Regions from separate parts of the Homo sapiens genome. Here all the other regions are linked to region 1. Evidence: promoter capture Hi-C in 16 types of primary human blood cells and fetal thymus (Javierre and others, 2016). All regions are on one chromosome and are shown on one strand. The core of a region is centred on a gene start or on the middle of the fragment in contact, and the rest is flanking DNA. Distances in the headings are between cores, read along the strand shown.

Evidence for each region. The method cuts DNA at HindIII sites, captures the fragments that hold promoters and counts their contacts. A CHiCAGO score of 5 or more calls a contact.
Region 2: a contact is called between a fragment that was not itself captured here and the fragment with the promoter of RLIM in region 1, in 3 of 17 cell types (total CD4 T cells, total B cells and non-activated CD4 T cells). The highest score is 5.8, in total CD4 T cells.
Region 3: a fragment that was not itself captured here is called in contact with the fragment with the promoter of RLIM in region 1 in 4 of 17 cell types (total B cells, naive CD8 T cells, non-activated CD4 T cells and 1 more); the score reaches 10.7 in total B cells.
Region 4: a fragment that was not itself captured here is called in contact with the fragment with the promoter of RLIM in region 1 in 1 of 17 cell types (total CD4 T cells); the score reaches 5.0 in total CD4 T cells.
Region 5: a contact is called between a fragment that was not itself captured here and the fragment with the promoter of RLIM in region 1, in 1 of 17 cell types (M0 macrophages). The highest score is 5.3, in M0 macrophages.
Region 6: a fragment that was not itself captured here is called in contact with the fragment with the promoter of RLIM in region 1 in 7 of 17 cell types (fetal thymus, total CD4 T cells, naive CD8 T cells and 4 more); the score reaches 8.6 in fetal thymus.
Region 7: a fragment that was not itself captured here is called in contact with the fragment with the promoter of RLIM in region 1 in 10 of 17 cell types (fetal thymus, M0 macrophages, total B cells and 7 more); the score reaches 15.2 in fetal thymus.

What each region holds. Positions count from the first base shown.
Region 1 is chrX:74,613,034-74,616,260 of GRCh38, reverse strand. RLIM (ring finger protein, LIM domain interacting) reads left to right here and starts at 1,637. Exons shown (of 4, transcript NM_016120.4): 1 at 1,637-1,839. RefSeq lists an enhancer at 1,713-2,032. The HindIII fragment of the contact is 9,843 bases long and covers 1-3,227 here.
Region 2 is chrX:76,431,478-76,434,704 of GRCh38, reverse strand. No RefSeq gene overlaps it. Among named protein-coding and RNA genes, the nearest start is that of MAGEE1, 5.4 kb to the right of the region's middle. The HindIII fragment of the contact is 1,747 bases long and covers 575-2,321 here.
Region 3 is chrX:76,251,807-76,255,033 of GRCh38, reverse strand. No RefSeq gene overlaps it. Among named protein-coding and RNA genes, the nearest start is that of PBDC1, 80 kb to the right of the region's middle. The HindIII fragment of the contact is 2,096 bases long and covers 665-2,760 here.
Region 4 is chrX:76,226,759-76,229,985 of GRCh38, reverse strand. No RefSeq gene overlaps it. Among named protein-coding and RNA genes, the nearest start is that of PBDC1, 55 kb to the right of the region's middle. The HindIII fragment of the contact is 2,172 bases long and covers 705-2,876 here.
Region 5 is chrX:76,180,321-76,183,547 of GRCh38, reverse strand. No RefSeq gene overlaps it. Among named protein-coding and RNA genes, the nearest start is that of PBDC1, 8.9 kb to the right of the region's middle. The HindIII fragment of the contact is 1,114 bases long and covers 893-2,006 here.
Region 6 is chrX:76,156,293-76,159,519 of GRCh38, reverse strand. No RefSeq gene overlaps it. Among named protein-coding and RNA genes, the nearest start is that of PBDC1, 15 kb to the left of the region's middle. The HindIII fragment of the contact is 4,234 bases long and covers 1-3,227 here.
Region 7 is chrX:76,135,657-76,138,883 of GRCh38, reverse strand. No RefSeq gene overlaps it. Among named protein-coding and RNA genes, the nearest start is that of PBDC1, 36 kb to the left of the region's middle. The HindIII fragment of the contact is 808 bases long and covers 1,325-2,132 here.

The DNA.
Region 1 (3,227 bases), core at 388-2,887:
CATGGTGAGGGGGTAATTCTCCCAAAGTATTTTGAGGGCTTACTATGTGGTCGCTGGGGACACAACAGTGAACAAAACAGAGAGGTTTACTGCTCAGAAAGGGTGAAGTAAACAAACAAATAAATAACTTACTTTCAGATTAAGTGTTTTACAAGAAAAGTAAGCAGGTAAGGAGATGGGAGAAGTCGTTATTACTTTTTTCTTTTTTTTTTTTTCCTCAGACCTTTTTCCGCCTTCAGGAAGAAGTTATTTTAGGTAGGGTGGTCAGGGAAGGCTTCTCTAGGAAGTTAATAATTGCGAGGCTTGGATGATGAAAGCAAAGATATGAAAGTAAAATATTCCAGCAAAGGTAAAGTAGTTGAAGTAGGAAGAAGTTAGCTTTGTTGGAAAAACCGTAACAAAGCCAGCATAGCTGGCATGCTATTGGAAAACAGAAAAATTGGGAAAAGGAAAAGAATCTAAAAACTTGGGTAAGGTTTTCCTTTAACTGTGACAATGGGAGTGGCATGCTGTGTGGCGAGTTCCCTCAATTCTTTCAGGCATTACTACCTAAGAAAGGCCTTCTTTAACTGCCCTTTTACAAATCCCAACGTTATCAGATTTTCCCACCCTTTTACAATCACCGCCCTTTTTCGAATACTTTAGAGTTAATGCCTCAAAGTTATCAGTCTTTTAAACATCACGAATCCGTTTGTCCCTACAAGGAACTCTTCTGTCCCCCTTCCTTGATTTTTCTCCTTGGCATTTATCACTAACATGATATGTATTTATGTTTGATTTTTTCTAAATTATTGTCCCTGGCCCCTATAAAGACTCAAGAGAACTGGGATTTTGATCTGTTTTCTTTTTTTTTTTTTTTTTTTTTTTGAGACACAGCCTTGCTCTGTCACCCAGGCTAGAGTGCAGTGGCGAGATCCCGGCTCACTGCAATCTTCGCCTCCTGGGTTCAGCTATTCTCCTGCCTCAGCCTCCCGATTAGCAGAGATTACAGGCGCCCGCCACCACGCCCGGCTAATTTTCGTATTTTTAGTAGAGACTGGGTTTCACCATGTTGGCCAGGCTGGTCTCGAACTCCTGACCTCAGGTGATCCGCCCGCTTCGGCTTCCCAAAGTGCTGGGATTACAGGCGTGAGCCACCGAACGTGGCCTGTTTTCTTTCTTAATTTTGGTCTATTTTAATTTCCTAAGCAGCTACAATGGTGCTTGACATGCAGTTGGCACTGTGTAAATACATGTTGAATAAAACGCAGGCTACTTTTTGAACTGGTCTGCACGGATTGTGTGAACTGATGTGATGTCAGGGTAGACTAATATCACATTTCTCTCTCTCTGAAAATGTCTTCAAGCAGTCAGACCGTGACGTCCTTCAGTTTTCAAAATGGGAAAGCGAAGGTTCCCACAATTCTCAGAACGCAAATTTCTCGCCACAATTCAAAATGGCGGAGGAGGGTGGGGCCTGTCACATGGTGGGCGTCATAACAGCTTTCCTTTTCCAAACCGCCGCCCGCCTTGCCGCGTCGTCTGCCGTCCCCCTCCTCCTCCCGCGGAGCCTTTTCGAGGAATCGACTGGGATTGGCTAATAGGCTGGGAGTGGGGCTGCGGTGCCGGGACGCGGCATCATCACTTCCTGTTGTGGGCAGTCGTTTCCTGTCGCTGCTTGGTAACAATGGGGAAGATAATGGCTGCCTGAGCAACGTCTCCGAGCAGGCGCTGGGCTAGAGGCGGGTCTCAACCAGCTACTCATTGGAGGCGGGCTTGAGAGCGGCGGCCAGGGAGGTGCGGAGCAGCCTCGGCGGCGGCGGCCGAACCAACCGAGTCGGATCCTGACCCTAAAACCTAGTAAGTGAAGACTTGGGAATCCTGTGAGAAATGATGTAGAGCGAGAGGAAGACAGCGGAGCCGCGGCTGCCGCGTTCTCTCAAAATGGCCCGAGTGACGCGTCGTGGCAGAGGCTCAGCGCCGCCTCCGGACCCCAGGCCCGTTGCTGCGGGGGGCTCCGTGGCGTAGTCGCCGCTGCCATTTTAGTTGAGTGGTATAGTCGACAGGCTCTTTGAAGGGGAAGGAGGTGGGTAGTACTTCCTCTCGGTGGCCGCGCGAGCTGCAGCCCAGGCCCTCCGGAGCCTTAGGAAATCGGGGGAGGCAGTTTTTGAGTTTTGGCCTCAGGCGTCAGAATCTTAGAACGTCTCAGGCTTTTTCTTCTCTGTTCTCTGGAGGCTTCCCTGACCTCCCCGCGTTTTCCATGGCGGGCTTGGGTTTGGGAAAAGGGAAGTAAAAAATCAGGCTGCCCCAAGTGAGATGCTGGCAACTCTTGGGCCTTTAGATTTCCAAAACCTCATTTTGAGCCCTTCTGCAGGGTATTACCAATTAGGCGCCCCCTGGGGCCGCGATGACATCTTCCCTGAGGATCTGAGGCAAATGTGGTTTACTCCCTTGCTCGAATAACCCTGGCATATCCTTTGCCAGGTATCACTGGAAGGATCCCCCCGCAAAAGAGAGGGAAAAGCCGTTAGGTGTTTGTTGTGTTCTCCTGGATAAGGGATGGAATTGGGCCAAATTTTCAAGTTAATTTGTGTTTAATCCACCAACAACTCAATCCCTCCCCCATTAAAAAAAAAAAAAAAAGCCTAGGGGGGTCTCTGCTTCTGCAGACGGTACCTGCCACGCATGCCATAGCTTAGTAACTAGTATTAACCGGTTGGGCTTCTGCTTCCTGAATACTCGGTCCCTTTTTCCCTTATGCTGATTAATTTCAAGATGGAGGAGACAGCCACGTTCCTTCCCTAGACAGTTTCACCATACTTATTCCACAGGTTAGTCTGGGAATCTGAGGCCTAGCAGTCTTGTTATTGAGGTCATTTTTTTTTTCATTTTGGGGCAAGAGGAAGCAGTTGTATCAGATTGTCATCTTCCATTTGCAAGACCCCACAATGATTTTTTGCCAGAAGTAAGGAGCCCGCATTTCCTGAATCAGAATTAACCGCAGTGTTTTGGACTGATTGAAAGGGGGAAGAAATAATAAACCTACTGCTACTAATCATTTCTTTCATTCTTCGTGATTATAGACAGAGTAACTACTTATCACCCCATTAAGTACATTGTATCTTCCCTGGAGGACTGGCACAATTATAACCCCTCCCCCCCCATGACTTTTCTAAACTGTAGAAATATAGCTTAGGTAGCTAGAAAGACCAATCCACTTTTTAAAACTTGATTTTAGGACACACTCC
Region 2 (3,227 bases), core at 199-2,698, 1.8 Mb before region 1:
AACCCCACATTCATCTCAAAATGACTGCTTTTCCGCTATCCACTCTACCAACAAAGGATCACAGTTGTGAATTTCCATAATCATCCTTTCTGTTCAATCTACCAATTTTTAAGGCTGTATCTCAAATTCAATTTTGGGGAAATAATTGTTTTTAATCAATTTTGATGAGTCATCATCTGAGATATGTGGATAACCTAGAGAACTTTAGCAGTTACTTAGATTAGATTAAGTGGCTACATAACTTCTTAGGCAAAAGGGGAAATCTTACAGAACCATTCATTGGCAAGATTGAATAACAATGTGAAGACAATCACCAGAGTCCCACCCATGATTTCTCTCTACATAAAGAGAAGAGACTTCTCCTGTGAAGTTTAGAAGCTTTTCCATTCCACCACAGATGAGTACAGCAATTAGTCAGTCACATTGACTGTAGCTCTTTGCAGGGTTTGACACAAGTCAATGATCATTACCTTAACGCAGAATGACAAGATCCTTTTTTAAAAAATAGTACACATTCATGTAATCATGAGAGCACGACCCTCCACTGAACACATGGAATCTTGAAACAAAAGCTTGCATCCTAATCTAACAGGTGCATTTGAACAAAGACATTTAATCAGACATTTTCTGAGACCAAAATGGTTACTTTTGAGAGAAATGCATGAAAAAAAACGTATTTTCTTCCTTGGTTGTCTTTAGTGGGATATTCTGAATGTTTGTGCATGTTGGTCAAGTTTATCTGAGAGAAAAATAGTTCGCAATATTTAAATGACAAACAACCAAGAAACTTGCTTAGGTAACATCTTCTGGCAACAATTGGATAACACACAAGTCTACTAAGAAACATGAAAAGAATAGAGAACTAATACAGAACTTAAGAAGTAAATGAAGCTCTATTATCAGAGCCTCTCTCTCAGGAAGGTTGTGCGAAGAGTAAAACGATTCAGTGATGTGGGTGTTATATCCCAGGCAGAACAATAAGAATATATGTAATCTTTACAGATTTTTTAAAAAAAATATTAGTAATGATATAAGAAGATATGTAATTCTTTTAGATTATAACAATAGTAATAGTGATAATAACAAGGAGGAGAAGGTGGGAAGAGGAAAGGGGAAAGAGATGAGGATGATGAAGAAGAGAAAGAAGAAGAAGAGGAAGAATTATTATTAAAGAGTAGGAGGGGAGGGGAAGGAAACCAATAAAAACAGCAACAACTGTAGTGGAGATTGTGATGTATCACCCAGATGCTCCTACTCTTCAGGATCACATTACTCATTCCTCCAGCTCTTGAGGGTGATGACAGCTGCTGTGTTTACAGCTGAGTACCTTTCTCAGGGATTACTCTCAGCTGAAAAGAACTGACTCTCAAAAAGTCATAGCCCCTTACCAGGAGGCAGTTTGCATCCAACGACTGGTGAGTATGGTGGGATAAAACTTTGGCCTCTTTTTCCTAATTTGGGACAACTCTGCAGGACCACACCAACTCCAGAGCTCCCTGTGGAATCAGTTAATTTATTTGCTGTGACTGAATCACTGCTCGACTTCTCTTTCTACACAATTCTGCTTCTCTTGCTCCCCACACCTGTTGAACCCAAAACAACTCCCCAGTAAAATTTCTGCAAGGAAATCACTCACAGTCTCATTCCTGGAAAAAATCAACATGCAACAATATCACTTATATATTGCTAACTACATGTCAAGTGCTCTTGTGTTTTACATGTTAACACATTTAATCCCCAACATTATGGCGTAGGTGAAATTATTATGCCCATTTTACAGATGAAAAAATGGAGGCACAAAGGAGTTAAGTAACTTGCCTGAGTTCTCATCTCTAGTATCAGAGAGAGCCAGGGTTTGTACCCAGGCACTTTGACTCTAGACTACATGCTCTTACTACTATGTTCTAATGCCTTTTAACCTTGATACCACGGAGTTTGATTTCCAAGGTGTTTTTTAAAAGATAACAGGCTTTCTGACTTCAATTTCTTTAAATTTGATTTTGTTCAGAAAATAACACCTCTTTTCATAGGTACATTAAGAAGAAATTACTATGCTAAAATTAGAGTTTCTGCCCTCCCCACCCCCTTTAGTTTTTCAATATGAGAGCCAAAAGAATCCTGTCAAAACTAAGTGGTTTCCTGCCATCGCTCAGATCAAAAGCCTTAAATAGTTTTCCATCTCACTCACAACTAAAGCCAAATTCTTATATGGTAGACTAATTTTTTATTCAAAAATATATGTTCTTCCTCTCTACTGGGCCCATTCCTATATGTTCTTCCCTGTAGAAGGAGTACACTTCCCAGCTCATTGACATCAAGCTTGCCCATGTGACTTGCTTTTGCCAATGGATTATGACTACAATATGCCATATATGAGCATAGGCTTTGAAAACTATCACATGGTTCCACTATGGCTCTTTTACTTCTGCCACAAGAACAGGTGTCCCATATATGATTTACTCCTTTAGCCTGGTTACCTGAAGGAAGACAATATAAACAGAATCACAGACAGCCCATGAAAGGGATGTAAAATGAGCCCAAAATTTTGTTGTTGTAAGCCTCTGAGATTTGGGTATTTTTTAAAAACCCACAGCATAACTTAGAGAAAGCTGGCTCATGTATCTTATTGAAACCATTGATGACACAATATATCCTGCTCTCTGGCCTTACATCTTTGACTTTTTTTCCTACCAGCACACATAAAGACTGAAATCCAGCCTTGAATCAGTTTAATTCATGATTGTATTAGGGACCCCATCTTGGCTGGGCACGGTGGCTCACGCCTGTAATCTCAGCACTTTGGGAGGCTGAGGTGGACAGATCACGAGGTCAGGAGTTTGAGACCAGCCTGGCCAAAATAGTGAAACCCCGTCTCTACTAAAAATACAAAAATTAGCTGGGTGTGATGGCACTTGCCTGTAGTCCCAGCTACTCTGGAGGCTGAGGCAGGAGAATTTCTTGAACCCAGGAGGCAGAGGTTGCAGTGAGCCGAGATCATGCCACTGCACTCTAGCCTGGGCAACAGAGCGAGACTCTGTCTCAAAAAAAAAAAAAAAAAAAAAGACCCCATCTTGTCCCCACCCCACATACCCAACAGCTTCCTTAAGGACCACCCTGAACACCCCAGGAATTGGTCAGTTGTGCCTCTTTTTAACTACCATAGCACTCTCTATTTTTCTATTGTAGCACATAGTACACCATAATAAATTGGTGATTTAAATGACCTC
Region 3 (3,227 bases), core at 463-2,962, 1.6 Mb before region 1:
CTCTTTTGGACCCATGCTTTGCAGCCTAGTTTCAGGGGATGGGTGATGCCAGCACTCTGTTAGTTGCCCCAGCTGGTGTCTCAGTAGGTTGCATGCCCCACTAGTCTACTCTCTCTGGGCCTAGTCCAGTACTAGTACTCATCTAAGAGTTGCAGGCCTTGTGGCCTAGACTGCCTTTCTCCTATGTTACATAAATAACCTGTTAATCTGCATAATAGATTATGTAAATAGCCTATTAACCTATTAATCTATGAATGAGCTGGGAATCCAGCATCTAGTTCAAACACTAAATTTCCTTGCAGGCAGAGGGTATGAAGTGTCCAAGTGTCCAAGTGTCCAAGTCACAACTACTAAGACAAGAGGTTAAATACCCAGAGGGTATGAAGTGTCCAACTATCCAAGTCACAACTACTAAGACAAGAGGTCCAATGCCTGGGGATAATCCTGACCTGTGGAGATCCTAAATTCTCCCCAGAATGAATATAGGTCATCCTTAAAATACCTACCCCAACCACCCAAAAGCTACTTCAGGCCTTTCTGGGAATCACAGGATATTGCAGACTTTGGATACCGGGGTATGATAGAATTGTTAAGTCCTTAATCAGACTTAAAAAAAATGACTAATAGAAACTCGCTTTTCTGGGGAAAATATCAGGAGCAAGCTTTTAGGCAGCTAAAAACTGCCCTCTCACAAGTTCTAGCCCTTGGACCACCCATACTAACCAAACCATTTCAGCTTTTTGTTACTGAAAGACAAGTTGTAGCCTTAGGAGTCCTAATTCAAACCATAGGGCTAATCAAATCTCCAGTAGGTACCTTTTCAACGAACCTAGACCCAGTTGCATGAGGGTGACCACACTGCCTCAAGATAGTGAGTGCAGCAGGGCTCCTATACTAGGAGGCCCTCAAAATCACCATGGGACAGTTAATCCAGATCCTGCCATCACACCATACAGGCCCCTTATTGAACATAAAAGGGCCACAATGGTTCACTGACAACAAACTGTTGAAGTACCAGGGCCTGTTACTAGAAAACCCACAGGTAACAGTTTAGCGGTACTCCATCCTCAACTCAGCCAACCTTACTTCCACTACCAGGAAACAATAACCTGGCACATTTATGCTGTGAAATACTTAACCAAATTTATGCCAGCTTGGAGGACTTAGAGGATCAGCTTCTGGACAATCCAAACAAAATATGATTTTCAGATGGGAGTAGTTTTATCTGGAATAGAGCTAGACATGCAGGGTACTTTATAGTGTCCCTTTCCCAAGTCATAGAGATAAAAGCTCTGTCCCGTGGGGACCTCAGCACAACTAGTGGAACTCATCACGTTGACAAGGGCAGTACAGATCCCAAATCTTAGATCTACTAGATGCTGTTCACTTGACCCAGGAGGTGGCAGTAGTACCCTGTGAGAGACACCAGAGGGGCTCCAATGAAACTGCACAAGAAAATAGGATGACCAACCCCAAACTAAAGAGGCAGCTGTCTCAAAGGATACTTACCTGGGGCCTTACTCCCATTGCTCCCCACTGAATTATCCCCTCTCCAATACACTCAGGAAGAAATAAATTGAACCACCCAACGTAGGTATCAAAAAGAAACCAATAAATGGTACAAACTTGGGGAACTTCTCCATCTACCAAGGGCCTCCCAAGGGTAGAAGGTCATCACGAGTTCACACAACTCCTGCCACGTTGAAAAGGACAATCTACGGCAAATATGTAAATTAATGTTTAGTAGTGTATTATTCCATTCTTGCATTGCTGTGAAGAAATGCCTGAGACTGGGTAATTTATAAAGAAAAGAGGTTTAATTGTCTCATACTTCTACAGGCTGTACAAAAAGGCTAGCTACCTTTCACAAGAACACCACCAAGAGGATGATGCTAAACAATTCATGAAGGATCCACCCCCATAATTCAACAACCTCCCACCAGGCCTCATCTGCAACAATTTGACATGATATTTGGTTAAGACACAGATCCAAACTATATCAAGTAGATAGGAAGAGAATAAACAAAACTATTCAACATGTTTGTCAACCTTTCAACTTGTGCATCATAAGTAATCCCCAAAGAGGGAAGCCCCCAAGTCCAACCCAAAGGACAGGTACATACCCTGGGGAGGACTGGCAGTTGCACTATACTCAGCTCACCACATGCTGCGGGCATAAGTACTTCTTGGTCTGTGTAGACACCTTCACAGGATGGGTACAGGCCTATCCCACAAGGACTGAAAAGACACAAGAGGCAGCTAATTCCTCCTAAGGGAACTCATTCCCCAATTCAGGCTTCCTAGGTCACCGCAAATAGACGATGGTCCATCCTTAATTTCCCAAACGAATCAGCAGGTCAGTTCTGCCTAGGCATAAAAGGGTACCTTCACTTTGCCTGGAGACCACCATCTTCAGGGAACCTGAAAAGAACTAGCTAAACCCTCAAACACATCCTCAATAAACTCTGTCAGGAAACAGTACAGACATGGGTGGACCTCTTACCTTTAGTTCTCCTTCAGATTTGTGTTGCCTCTCAGACCCCTTTGCAATTAAGCCCCTTCAAGGCCTTATATGTTAGGCCATTCCTGTATTCTGACTTACTGCTAGATGAAGAAACTGCTAAAATCAACCAGTATGTCTCTTTTCTAGCAGACCTCCATCAAGCCCTCCAGGAATATGGGTTAAAAACAAACACAAAATTAGAAGAGAAAAAATCTCCACCTCTATATCCTCCAAACTCACTGGTTCTCCTCAAAGCTTGGAAGAATAGAACCCCAAATTCCCAACTAACTCCAGTCAAAGAGAGACCCTTTACTGTTGCATTTTCTATTTCTACCCTCACGGCCATTAAAGTAACAGAGATTAGCAGCTGGATACACTACACCTGAGTGAAGTATTGGAAAGGCCCTTAAACACTGGAACTGAATCCAACGACTTCAACTCCAGAATACATTGTGAACAATTGAAGGATCTGAAATTCCTCTTTAGATGGAAAGATAACCAATGCCTCCGCAGATCCTTTCACCTCAAAGTAATATAATTCCAATATTAGGAATACTGTTTGCAATAGCATCACTTATTCACCTTATTTTAACCCTAACCTGTATGCCCCCCCAAAGTCCCAAGAGAAACTACTTTGTTGCTAATTTTTCTTCACCTTAACTTACTTTCGGGCAATTCCCTTTACAACTTGATTTGTTACTAATTTCTCTTTTTCACAATCTCA
Region 4 (3,227 bases), core at 541-3,040, 1.6 Mb before region 1:
TATTTGTGGAGGTTCTTGGCAGGGTCTCATTTCAAGTAAATAAATTACTAGTATTTATGGTATTGCTACCATTCTAAGAGTGAAGTTAAAAATCATTTGGATAGCCAGAAAATAGTTAAAGGAAATGGAAAATATATATGAAAATTAAAGGCACCTTGTCTTTTAAAAAAAACCCTTTCTACTTTTTTCTGCCATTTCTTCTCTCTATGATGTCCTTGCATTAATCTGACTACTTTAAAAAAATAGAGAGATGCTAATATTTCAGATGGCTACTTCATTAGTGGATTTCCCTGAAAAAAAAAATAAATGAGGGCACAAACTGTTTCATTGGTAGTACATTTTCTGCTCTGTATGAGGACATGGGTTTGTGTGCTTTATGACCTAGCCAAGTCCACTTCATATCTGAGCCCAGATTCCACATCCAAGAGTCTGTTCTCATTCACACACCATACAGCTAGGAAAACAGACATAAAAAAATAAACATGACCACAGAATAATTGATAATTTGAAGATCAGGCTGTGTCTTCATATATAGGCAGAATGATGGAGAGTATTTTTATTAGTCACTTGAAAAAAAGAGAAAAAAGGTATTAGACTGCTCACTAATACAGAAAAGGGGACAAAAGTGCCATATAACTCTATATTTTTTCTTTCTCTAGACAAAAAATAAATCAATCCGTTATATTCAGATCACCAACAAAGCTTATGCCATTGAGAGGTTACCCACACCCATCGGGGGTAAATTAATTAAGAATACACATGTGTGGCCAGGCACGGTGGCTCATATTTGTAATCCCCGCACTTTAAGAGGCCGAGGTGGGTGGACCATTTGAGGTCAGAAGTTTGAGACCAGCCTGGCCAACATGATAAAACCCAATCTCTACTAAAAAATAAAAAAATAAAAAATAGCCTGGCGTGGTGGCAGGTGCCTATAATCCCTGCTACTTGGGAGGCTGAGGCAAGATAATCACTTGAACCCAGGAAGCAGAGGTTGCAGTGAGCCAAGATCATGTCACTGCACTCCACTCCAGCCTGGTCAACAGAGCGAGACTCTGTCTCAAAAAAAAAAAAAAAAAGAAAACAAAAGAAAAGAAAAAGAATATACATGCTTTTCTCACTGGTTGGTATCAATTATCTAAAGACTTCTTTTTCTGTGACCTGGAAGACTCATAGAAGTTTGCAGAAATACTGCACAGCATGTTTTGTGTTTACAGACCCAAGCATGGTTGCTTACACTGGTTGTTGTAGAAGATTTTGCAATCAGCAGACTTTCTAGCAACAAGTAGACAGTCTAAAAATAGGTCCCCTACATGAAAAGTCACTGTGACCAAGAGAGGGCTATTATCCACCACCACCTACAACTACAGAAGAATTAAGTGCACTAGCAGCCCACTGAAGGGATTTCTTGGTGACTTTACTTGAAGGCTTTCTACAAAGGTGAGCTAGAAAATGTTACAGCATTGTACCCAGAAAAGGGCGAGTGCCTCCACTGATTTCTATAAGTGGTTTGTTGAGGCTTTTTGAAAAATCACTGGCATGGACAGAGTTGAGGACCAAAACTGCACTCTAGTCTTAGCAAACTGAGTATTGGCTATCTTGACAACTATCCAAACCCAGGTTGAGTAAAAAATGGCAGTATGACAAGGACAGACTATTGCTCAGCAGCTATTCAGTTTGGGGACAATCTAGAGAAATATAAAGAAGAAATGCAAAACTACTGTTTTAACCACTCAATTAGAACATTTTACTAACAGAAGTAATTCCTATATTTGTCAATATATAAAGGGAGAAAGGAAAGAAAACTATATGTTATTTTTAAAAAAAGAACATTTTAGGAAAATCTATAGATAAAAATACCACAGGATGAATAAATTTCAGGAATAAGAAAATCAGTAAAGCCAATAGAAGGATAAAACCCTCAGCTAAGAAAACTTTACAATTGGCTCTAAACTGATAGATTTAAAAATCTTGGAAATAAAAACTGGTGAATCATATGTCTCAATAACTTTTCCTTATGTTAATATATCTTTTTTGGATAGACACTTGTGGTACTTACTCTGCAATTTCCATGGAAATGTAGGTTAATATATCTTTTTTGGATAGACACTGGTGGTACTTACTCTGCAATTTCCATGGAAATGTCTTGTTTTCCATCTGGCAACAGATCAATAGAGGTTGCTAGTATTTCAGGTCAACATTATACTTGTTCCATTTTCTCCATGGTTCACACAAATATAAGTATATTGCTTAGGGCAGTAAAAATATTTTAACAATATTAATACTTCTGGTTCATGAACACACAGTAACTTTTCATCTATTTGTGTCATCTTCAATTTTTTTCACAAAGTTTTATAGTTTTATGTGTACAAGTCTTTCACCACCTTGGTTAAATTTATTCCAACATATTTTATGCTATTTTAAATAAGATTGTTTCATTAAATTCTTTCTTATGTATAGAAATGCTACTAATTTTTGTATGTTAATTGTGTTGCTTATAACTTTACTTAATTTATCAGCTCTAACAATGTTTTAGTGGAGTCTTTAGGATTTTCCAACTATAAGATCATGTCATCTGCAAACAATGATAATTTGACTTCATTTCAAACTTGGATGAACTTTATTTTATTCTCTTGCTTGATTGCTCTGGTTTGTATTTCTGGTATTACATTGGATAAAAGAGATGAGAAAAATCATCTTTGCCTAGTACTAAATCTGAGAATAAAAACTTTCAGATATTTCTTATTATCATGATAGAAAGGATGTTAAATTTTGTCAAATGCTTTTATGTAGAGACATCACCAAAATGGTAGAGTAGAAGCTAGCAGGCTTCTCTCCCCACTACCAGAAAATCAAAACCAAATATGCAGTGCCAAGCTTATCAACAGCAAAATTCCAGAACTCAAATATGAGGATAAAATAGATGTTGTGGTCAAGTAGAAGTGAAAAAACTTCATACAGATAGTAAGATAATTGAATATAGCTCTGATGCCCATCCTACATTCTGCCAGACACCAAGCATCCAGAAAATTTTCCCATAACTCAGTTACTATACTAGAAAAAAGTGAAATTGATGTTGACAATGAGCTTCCCTGCAATGTTGGGATCCTAAAGATTTGTTTCCACCTCAATCCACAGAAAACATTGCAAGTACCTGAAGGGAGAAAAAATCCTGAAAACAGCCAAAGAAAAATGGTGAAAGCAGGACCTGCTCTGTTTCTAGGCCAAAA
Region 5 (3,227 bases), core at 200-2,699, 1.6 Mb before region 1:
AAGGGAAAGGGATGGGGAACTCCCTCCCCTAGCCAAGGGAAGCCATGAGGGACTGTGCCCTGAGGACACTCAGGCCAAGATACTATGCTTTTCACATGGTCTTCGCAACCTGCAGACCAGGAGAGTCCCTATGGTGCCTATGCTACCAGGGACCTGGTTTCAAGCACAAAACTGGAATACCTTTTGGGCAGATACCAAGCTAGCTGCAGGAATATTTTTTCAAACCCCAGTGGCACCTGGAACGCCAGTGAGACAAAACCGTTCACTCCCCTGGAAAGGAGGCTGAAGCCAGGGAGCCAAGTGGTCTAGCTCAGCAGAACCCACCCCCACGGAGCCCAGAAAGCTAAGATCCACTGGCTTGATTTCTTGCAACCAGCACAGCAGTCTGAAGTCCACTTGGGACTCTCAAGCTTGGTGGGGGGAGGGGCATCTGCCATTACTGAGGCTTCAGTAGGTGGTTTTCCCCTCACAGTGTAAACAAAGCCTCCCAGAAGTTTGAACTGGGTGGATCCCACCGAAGCTGAGCAAAGCCACTGTAACCAGACTGCCTCTCTAGATTCCTCCTCTCGGGGCAGGGCATCTCTGAGAGAAAGGCAGCAGCCCCAGTCAGGGGCTTATAGATAAAACTCCCATCTCCCTGGGACAGAGCACCTGGGGGAAGGGGCGACTGTGGGTGCAGCTTCAACAGGCTTAAACGTTCCTGCCTGCCAGCTCTGGAGAGCAGTGGATCTCCCAGCACAGCGCTGGGGCTCTGCTAAGAAACAGACTGCCTCAAGTGGGTCCCTGACCCCTGTGTGTCCTGACTGGGAGACACCTCCCAGCAGGGGTCGACGGACACTTCATACAGGAGAGCTCCGGCTGGCATCCGGCGGGGGCCCCCTGGGATGAAGCTTCTAGAAGAAGGAAGAGGCAGCAATCTATGCTGTTCTGCAGCCTCTGCTGGTGATACCCAGGCAGATAGAGTCTGGAGTGGACTTCCAGCAAACTACAGCAGACCTGCAGGAGAGGGGGCTGACTGTTAGAAGGAAAACTAAAAAACAGAAAGGGATAGCATCAACATCAACAAAAAGGACGTCTAGACAGAAACCTCATCCAAAGCTCACCAACATCAAAGAGCAAAGGTAGATAAATGCACGAAGAGGAGAAAAAAACAGCACAAAAAGGCTGAAAATTTCAAAAACCAGAATGCCTCTTCTCCTTCAAAGGACCACAACTCCTCGCCACCAAGGGAACAAAACTAGGTGGAGAATGAGTTTGACAAACTGACAGAAGTACGCTTCAGAGGGTGGGTAATAAGAAACTCCTCTGAGCTAAAGAAGCATGTTCTAACCCAGTTCAAGGAAGCTAAGAATCTTGAAAAAAGGTTAGAAGAATGGCTAACTAGAATAACCAGTTTAGGGAAGAACATAAATGACCTGATGGAGCTAAAAAACACAGCATGAGAACTTCGTGAAGCATACACAAGGATCAATAGTCAAATCGATCAAGCATAAGAAAGGCTATCAGAGAATGAAGATCAATGTAATGAAATACAGTGTGAAGACAAGATGAGAGAAAAAAGAATGAAAAGAAGTAAACAAAGCCTCCAAGAAATATGGGATTATGTGAAAAGACCAAACCTATGATTGATTGGTGTACCTGAAAGTGACGGGGAAAATGGCACCAAGTTGGAAAACATTCTTCAGGGTATTATCCAGAAGAACTTTCCCAAAATAGCAAGAGAGGTCAACAATCAAATTCAGGAAATACAGAGAACACCACTAAGATACTCCTCGAGAAGAGCAACTCCAAGACACATAATCGTCAGGTTCACCAAGGTTGAAATGAAGGAAAAAATGTGAAGGGCAGCCAGAGAGAAAGGTCGGGTTACCCACGAAGGGAAACCCATCAGATTAACACCGGATCTCTATGCAGAAATGCTACAAGCCAGAAGAGAGTGGAGGGTAATATTCAACATTCTTAAAAGAATTTTCAACCCAGAATTTCATATCCAGCCAAACTAAGCTTCATAAGCGAAGAAGAAATGAAATCTTCTACAGTCAAGCAAATGCTGAGAGATTTTGTCACCACCAGGCCTGCCTTACAAGAGCTCCTGAAGGAAGCACTAAACAAGGAAAGGATCAACCGGTACTAGTCACTGCAAAAACATACCAAATTGTAAAGACCATCAACACTATGAAGAAACTGCATCAACTAACAGGCAAAATAACCAGCTAATATCATAATGACAGAATCAAATTCACACATTAAAAATATGAACCTTAAATGTAAATGGGCTAAATGCCCCAATTAAAAGACAAAGACTGGCAAATTGGATAGAGTCAAGACCCATCAGTGTACTGTATTCAGGAGACCCATCTCACGTGCAAGGACACACATAGGCTCAAAATAAAGGGATGGAGAAATATTTACCAAGCAAATGGAAAGCAGAAGAAAGCAGGGGTTCCAATCCTAGTCTCTGATAAAACAGACTTTAAACCAACAAAGACCAAAAGAGACAAAGAAGGGTATTACATAATGGTAAAGGGATCAATGCAACAAAAAGAACTAGCTATCCTAAATAGATATGCACCCAATAAGGAGCACCCAGATTCATGAAGCAAATTCATAGAGAACTACAAAGAGACTTAGACTCCCACACAATAATAGTGGTAGACTAACAGCCCACTGTCAATATTAGAAAGATAAATGAGACAGAAAATTAACAAGGATATTCACGGCTTGAATGCAGCTCTGGAACAAGCAGACCTAGTAGACATCTACAGAACTCTCCACCACAAATCAACAGAATATATATTCTTCTCAGAACCACATCACACTTATTCTAAAATTGACCACATAATTGGAAGTAAAAACTCCTCAACAAATGCAAAAGAATGGAAATCATAACAAACAGTCTCTCAGACCACAGTGCAATCAAATTAGAAAGTAGGATTAAGAAACTTACTCAAAACTGCACAATTACATGGAAACTGAACAACCTGCTATTGAATGCCTACTGGGAAAATAACGAAAAGAAGGCAGAAATAAAGATGTTCTATGAAACCAATGAGAAAAAAGACACAACATACCAGAATCCCTGGGACACAGCCAAAACAGTATTTAGAGGGAAATTTATAGCACTAAATGCCCACAAGAAAAAGCAGGATATATCTAAAATCGACACCCTAACATCACAATTAAAAGAACTAGAGAAGCAAGAGAAACAAATTCAAAAGTTAACTAAA
Region 6 (3,227 bases), core at 288-2,787, 1.5 Mb before region 1:
ACCGAGCCAGACCACTTGGATCCCTGGCTTCAGCCCCCTTTCCAGGGGAGTGAACGGTTCTGTCTTGCTGGCGTTCCAGGTGCCACTGGGGTATGAAAAACTTCTGCGGCTAGCTCAGTGTCTGCCCAAATGGCCGCCCAGTTTTGTGCTGGAAACCCAGGGCCTTGGTGGTGTGGGCACCAGAGTGAATCTCCTGGTCTGTGGGTTGCCAAGACTGTGGGAAAAGCACAGTATCTGGGCCTAAGTGCAAAGTACAGTCCCTAATGACTTCCCTTGGCTAGGAGAGGGAGCTCCCGGACCCCTTGCGCTTCCCTGGTGAGGCAACACCCCACTCTGCTTTGGCTCACCCTCCTTGGGCTGCACCCACTGTTCAACCAGTCCCAGTGAGATGAACTGGGTACCTTAGTGGGAAATGTAAAAATCACCCACCTTCTGCATTGATCTCGCTGGGAGCTGCAGACTGGAGGTGTTCTTATTTGGCCATCTTGCCAGCCAGGGCTCCAGTGTTCCTTATTTCTTACATACGCTATATACCCCATGAAATTTGTCATTTAATCCCCCATATTTGTTGATCGCCTACTCAGAGCTATGTCCATATGTGTCTAAGACCTAGACATGTAGTGATGAAAAATGCACAGTACCCTCTTATAATGCACTCATCCTAGTGAGATATATTGTTATACTAAAACTGACCATTACCAAAAAAAAAAAAAAGACAGTAGTAATTATAATGATAGTGATTCCAAGGAATAGCACAGTGGCTGACACATATTAGAGGAGTGCCATGACTTTTTGTTGCATGAATGGATTAATGACAATACATTCAAAGCATTACTGGAAGACAAAGACATGAAAACTATCCTGTGACCATGCTGGAAGGCGCTTGACTCCTGAAGTGAATACATCTTAAGGTTAAGGTTAAAATCTCCTGACACATTAAGTTCCCATGAAAACCTTAGCAATTGCCACTTTTGATTGAATGTCTTCCATAGGTAAGGGTACAGAAATAATTATTGTTAACTGCTGAGTATGGATCACATAAGACTCAGACTGTCCCATACCAGTCTGTGTTAGTATATGAGTATGTGTGTGCACATATGTACATATGCATGTGCATGAATGCATTTAAGAAAAAGAGTGGGTCGGGTGTGGTGGTTCATGCCTGTAATCCCAGCAGTTTGGGAGGCCAGGATGGGTGGATCGCTTGAGCTCAGGAGTTCGAGACCAGCCTGGGCAACAGGGCAAAACTCCGTCTCTACTAACAATACAAAAAATTAGCTGGGCGTGGTGGTTCCAGCTACGTGGGAGGCTGAGGCGGGAGGATCACCTGAGCCTGGGAGGTGGAGGTTGCAGTGAACCAAGATCATGCCACTGCACTTCAGCCTGGGTGACAGAGTGAGACCCAATCTCAAAAAAAAAAAAAAAAAAAAAAAGAGAGAGAGAGAGAGAAAAGAAAAAGAAAAAGAGTGACACCTCTCCAACTATACCAGGGGCAGTACAAATGATCTGGAATCAGGATAGATTTAAATTCACCTCCTCCTTGGAAGTTACCAACCTTACTCTCATAGTTTCAGGGCCATGATGGTTTGTGGTTAAAGTTATGTCATCTTTTATTTCGGAGGTAACTGAGTTTTATTATCTATGTGAACTTAGGCAAGTCTCTTAAATGCAGAGTCTTGGCTTCTTCACTTTGAAAGTGAAGATTACAGACACATTTGACTTATGTGCTTATTTCAATGATGGAATTATATAAGACATGAATGTATGAGCTCTTAGCACAGGGACTAGAATACAGCAAATGCTCAGTAAATTATAGATTATTCAGAATGCCATGGACTTTCCAGACATAGCTCAGGTTTAAGCTCTAAGATTATTTTCTGCAAAGGTTATTTTGCTCCACATCTGCTAAGGGAGATACCTAGGTTGAGCATGGGGGAGAAATAGGCATATGTTAGCCCTAGTACTTGTGGGTCCAGCTGCAACTCCTTGATACTGTGGTGAGTTGGGGCTATCACACTGGATGTGCACTGACCTCAGACATGCCCATCTCTTTGCAGTGCATCATAGGCTTTCCCCAAGGGAAGTTCTGAAAGCCCCACTCAGAAAGCACAACACCAGGATGTTATAGACAAGACTTTGAACTTTAGAGGCAGGTAGCTCTGGATTTTAAAGAGGAAAATGAACTGAGCCCATGCTTTTTCTCTATATATCGTCCCTGTTTTCTCCTTCCCTTCATTGGCTTTGTTTACTCTGTCTCAATGCTTCCTTTCTTCCTTCTTTCTTGTTTTACTTTCTTATAGTCACAGAGCAATTTTTCATAGAAACATAAAACATTTTTAAATACTATTAACACTTGGTAATTCAAGCCCCATCTTTAAATTTTCTCAGCTAGAAATGTAGAAAAGTTTCTGCCTCCGTTGTGCTTTTTTTCTAACTAATCAGAACAATTTGGTCATTTAGGAATTGGACTAATTTTTCACTCAGAATTGTCTGAAACTTTTCTCACACCCATAATTCAGATCTCCTTTGTCATTCCATTCCATTCTCAGGTAAGGATATGGCACTGTATGTCAGAATATAACATCAAGCCTTCCTCTGTCTAAGCCTGGTGATAACATTGGTGGCCATCACACCCTGGCTGGGGCTACTAAGCATATTGCTGCAGAGCTCACTAGGTGAGCAGCCAGAGGAGAGATAGGAATGAGAGTAGTGATGAGCTTTTCCTGCTAACTTGGTATTTACTCTGTTCTGATTCAGACACATCTACAGGATAATTCAGGGCTCTGGACCAAGGAATAACCAGACATCTCTAAGAATGGCTCCTTGGTGCTGGTGGCACAAGAGTAACCTTTGTTTTGACCACCGGCCCACCAGTTGCACTGACCAACTGCTTTCAGATGGAGTTATTTAGGCTGTGCCAAGTGACTTGCACTGTTTCTGAACTCATAAATATAACTTGCAGCCCTCACTGGATTCATATTTGATCCCATGGGAGCTGGGCAAAGGAGACACACCTGAGAAGGCAATGTAGTCCTCTCTTCAAAATCACCACTTTCCTCAAATAGCCACAGTGTTACGTAGTTGGCCAAGCTGAGCTTCCCGGATATTACTTCCTAAGGATGTCATTTTCTAGTACCCTTTTTAGTCCCCAAATCAAAGAGTTATCTGATAGAAAAGAAATAGTATCTCACCATGATTAAAATTTTTATTACCTGATTAACTTTGAT
Region 7 (3,227 bases), core at 479-2,978, 1.5 Mb before region 1:
GTAAGAAGCAGAGTGGGCCTATTGGCCACTTTCTTCCTGGATTCTGAATTGCTATTTATGCAGCCCCATCACAAGGCTAACACACACTGGCTCCACTAATTGGGAACTGATTTAGGAAATGTTCATTTAATTGGAAAAACATTTTATGTACCCTGGGAAGGTCACACTTTACCCAGCCTGTTCATTTCTCTGCTCAAATCATTATCATACTGAGCAGAAGAATTTCCAGTACTATTCAGCTTTCATGAATTATAGAATGTTTGAGATGGAAGATGTTTGAGGAAACAGAGATTCAGGGAAATGAATTTGTCTGCCTAAGGTCACCCAGGGAGTTCGTGGCTGAGCATACCCTAGGACTCAGATTCCTTGAAGCCCAGGCCAGACTCTTTGGGGCCTCAAAGAAGTCAGCCCCAGATGACTCTTCTACAGCTCTTATTCAGGGCACACCTTAAGAGTGGAAACAGAAAATCCCTAAAGCTGCCAAATATTTCTGTCTTGACCTGATACCTTCCCCATACCTTGAACGCTACTGCCTGACTTCTTGAGGAGCCAAACCATGAGAGAAACTCAGAGTGCATTAATAAAGGGCTTAAGTAACCATAGGAAAACATAAGCCTGTGCCAGAAATGCTGCCACCAGGAAATTTAAATCTCTGCAGGACTTATGGTACTTGATTGGCTCCATGCTCTGTGGGCTGATGCCAAGCCCAAGAACCAAGGTAACTAATTCTTAGGGAAGTCCAAGTAGACACCAGAAGAGGAAACCAAACCCTCATGGTAAATAAAAATCATTACCAGAATATTGTTTCCTTGACACAGCCTCTGACAGCCATGAGTGGCTCTCCACATCTCTTAAACTGTGACAGGTGGCAGTAACCCAAAAAAGCTCAGACAATGGTCCCAAAAGTAGCATCCCCTTGGGTTTTCATCCATTTTCTGAGTGTGTCAAGTTCCTACTGGACTTAACTTAAATCTACAACTAGGGAAGAGAATGAGTGCCATGAGCAAGAGAACAAGTAGGAAGGGGTAAAGCAGGGAAAAGACATATGGAGGTACAGCTGAGACTAATGTCTTGAGCAAAAAATATTTGTGTTCCCTTCTAGTCCTATTCATGCTTGACCACCCTTCCAAATTCCACCCCAATGAACTTAGAGTCTCAAAAACCGCATAAAAAATTCCAGGTTCAGACACTGAAGCAAGGAAAGGGACAGCCACTTATACAAAATTATAAAGTAAACTAGCAGCAGTATCACAGAAGCCTCCTGACTTCCAGAGCAAAGATCTTTTTACAAACATCCCAGCAAGTAATTTCACTTATTCAAGCTTCCATTTCCTCATCTAGAATGAGGGAATAATAATATTACCTACCCCAAGAATCTGCTGTAATAAACTAATGCCTGGAAAACACTTAGCGAAGTCCCTGACCACTGTAAAAGCTCAATCTATATTAACCATTATTATTATATTGGGTTATCTTCTCCACTTGCCAGAATGCAATGGGCTGCCAGCTGCAACCCTATTGTCACTTCTACATCTAGCCTCCTATCTTGCACATACACTTTGAGTTTCCAACTTCTAGTTTCTTTATTGACATAGAAAGGAAGATACTATCTGTGGGAAGGAATAGAAAAAGGAAAGGTGTTTTGAACTACCTCAGATATCAGTGCTAATAAAGTTTTGAGGGAGATGGCAAATTTTCTGACTGGTATAACTTTTCTGTTGCTGAGCCAGGAATCAAAGTGTGAGAGGGATAAAGCATGTGAAATACTGAAAAGAGTTCTATTATAGTTTGGAGTCTGGCATGCCTGTGTTTGAACCTCAGATGTGCCTCTTATTACATGGCCTTAGGCAAGTCAGTCACTTCAGTTTTCCAAGACAAAGTTTCTTCACTTGTCAAATATGGCTCATAATTTCACATCCTCACAGGATCATTATGAAGAGTTCCAAGGGAGAAATGATGAAGTGTGTGTGTGTGTGTGTGTGTGTGTACACAGACAGATATACGTTCCTCCACATATAGTGAGTATTCAATAATTGGGTACTACATCACTCAATTTAGAATTTATGGGAATGTTTCATATATTCTGGCAATGGGTTCATTCTCAGTCTTACTTTTCAGAGTTACTGCAAGCTTTCCTCCTCTTCTGGATCTTCTTTTGTATATTAGTCAGAAGCCAAGAAAGGCAACATCAAGTACTGCTTATTAAAGACCATTTTAAGCTGGAAACCCATTACTAAAAATCAAAGATATGTGACTATTTTTTCACCAATTGTAATTACAAAAAAATTCACCCAAAAAATTGATAAAATACTGTTAGCAAGGCTATGGGAAATTTTGACACATTGTTGGTGACAGTATAATTTGGCACACATGTTGAAGGCAATTTAGGGCGTCTATCAACTTATGAATGCATAAGGCTCTAACAAAACAAATTAACCTCTGGAAATTTATCCCACAGACATGCCGGTATTTGTATATATTTTAAAAAAATATGTGCCAGGTTGTTTACTGAAGCATTGTTTGTAAGAGCAAAACCTTAATGTCTATCATCAGAGCAACACATTAAATAAATTATGGTACAACCATACAATGAAGCTACAAAAAATAACAAGGAAGTGTTCAATGTACTGACATGGAAAGACCAGTGAGATATATTTTAAGTGACTTAAAAAGTGTATATTGTGCCTAGTGCTGTGGCTCACTCCTGTAATCCCAGTATTTTGGGAGGCCGAGGCGGGTGGATCACCTGAGGTCGGGAGTTCAAGACCAGCCTAACCAACATGGTGAAACCCCGTCTCTACTAAAAAAAGAAATACAAAATTAGCCAGGCATAGTGGCGCATGCCTGTAATCCCAGCTAATCGGGAGGCTGAGGGAGGCGAATCACTTGAACCCGGGAGGCAGAGATTGCGGTGAGCCGAGATCGCTCCGCTGCACTGCAGCCTGGGCAACAAGAGGGAAACTCCATCTTAAAAAAAAAAAAAAAAAAAAGAAAGAAAGAAAAGAAAAGAAACAAAAAGTGTATATTGTATGCTACAAATTATATGAAAAAGTGGGTGGGGGCTATCTCCTTATGTAAACACACACAAAGTTTACAGAAGAAATGAATAAAAATAGTTAACTGTGTGGGTGGAGAAGGTGGGAACTGGGGAGATGGGAGATTAAGCTGGAATAGATACTTTATGCTTCTTCTATTTGGTTTTTGATACATGAAATATATTACCTTTT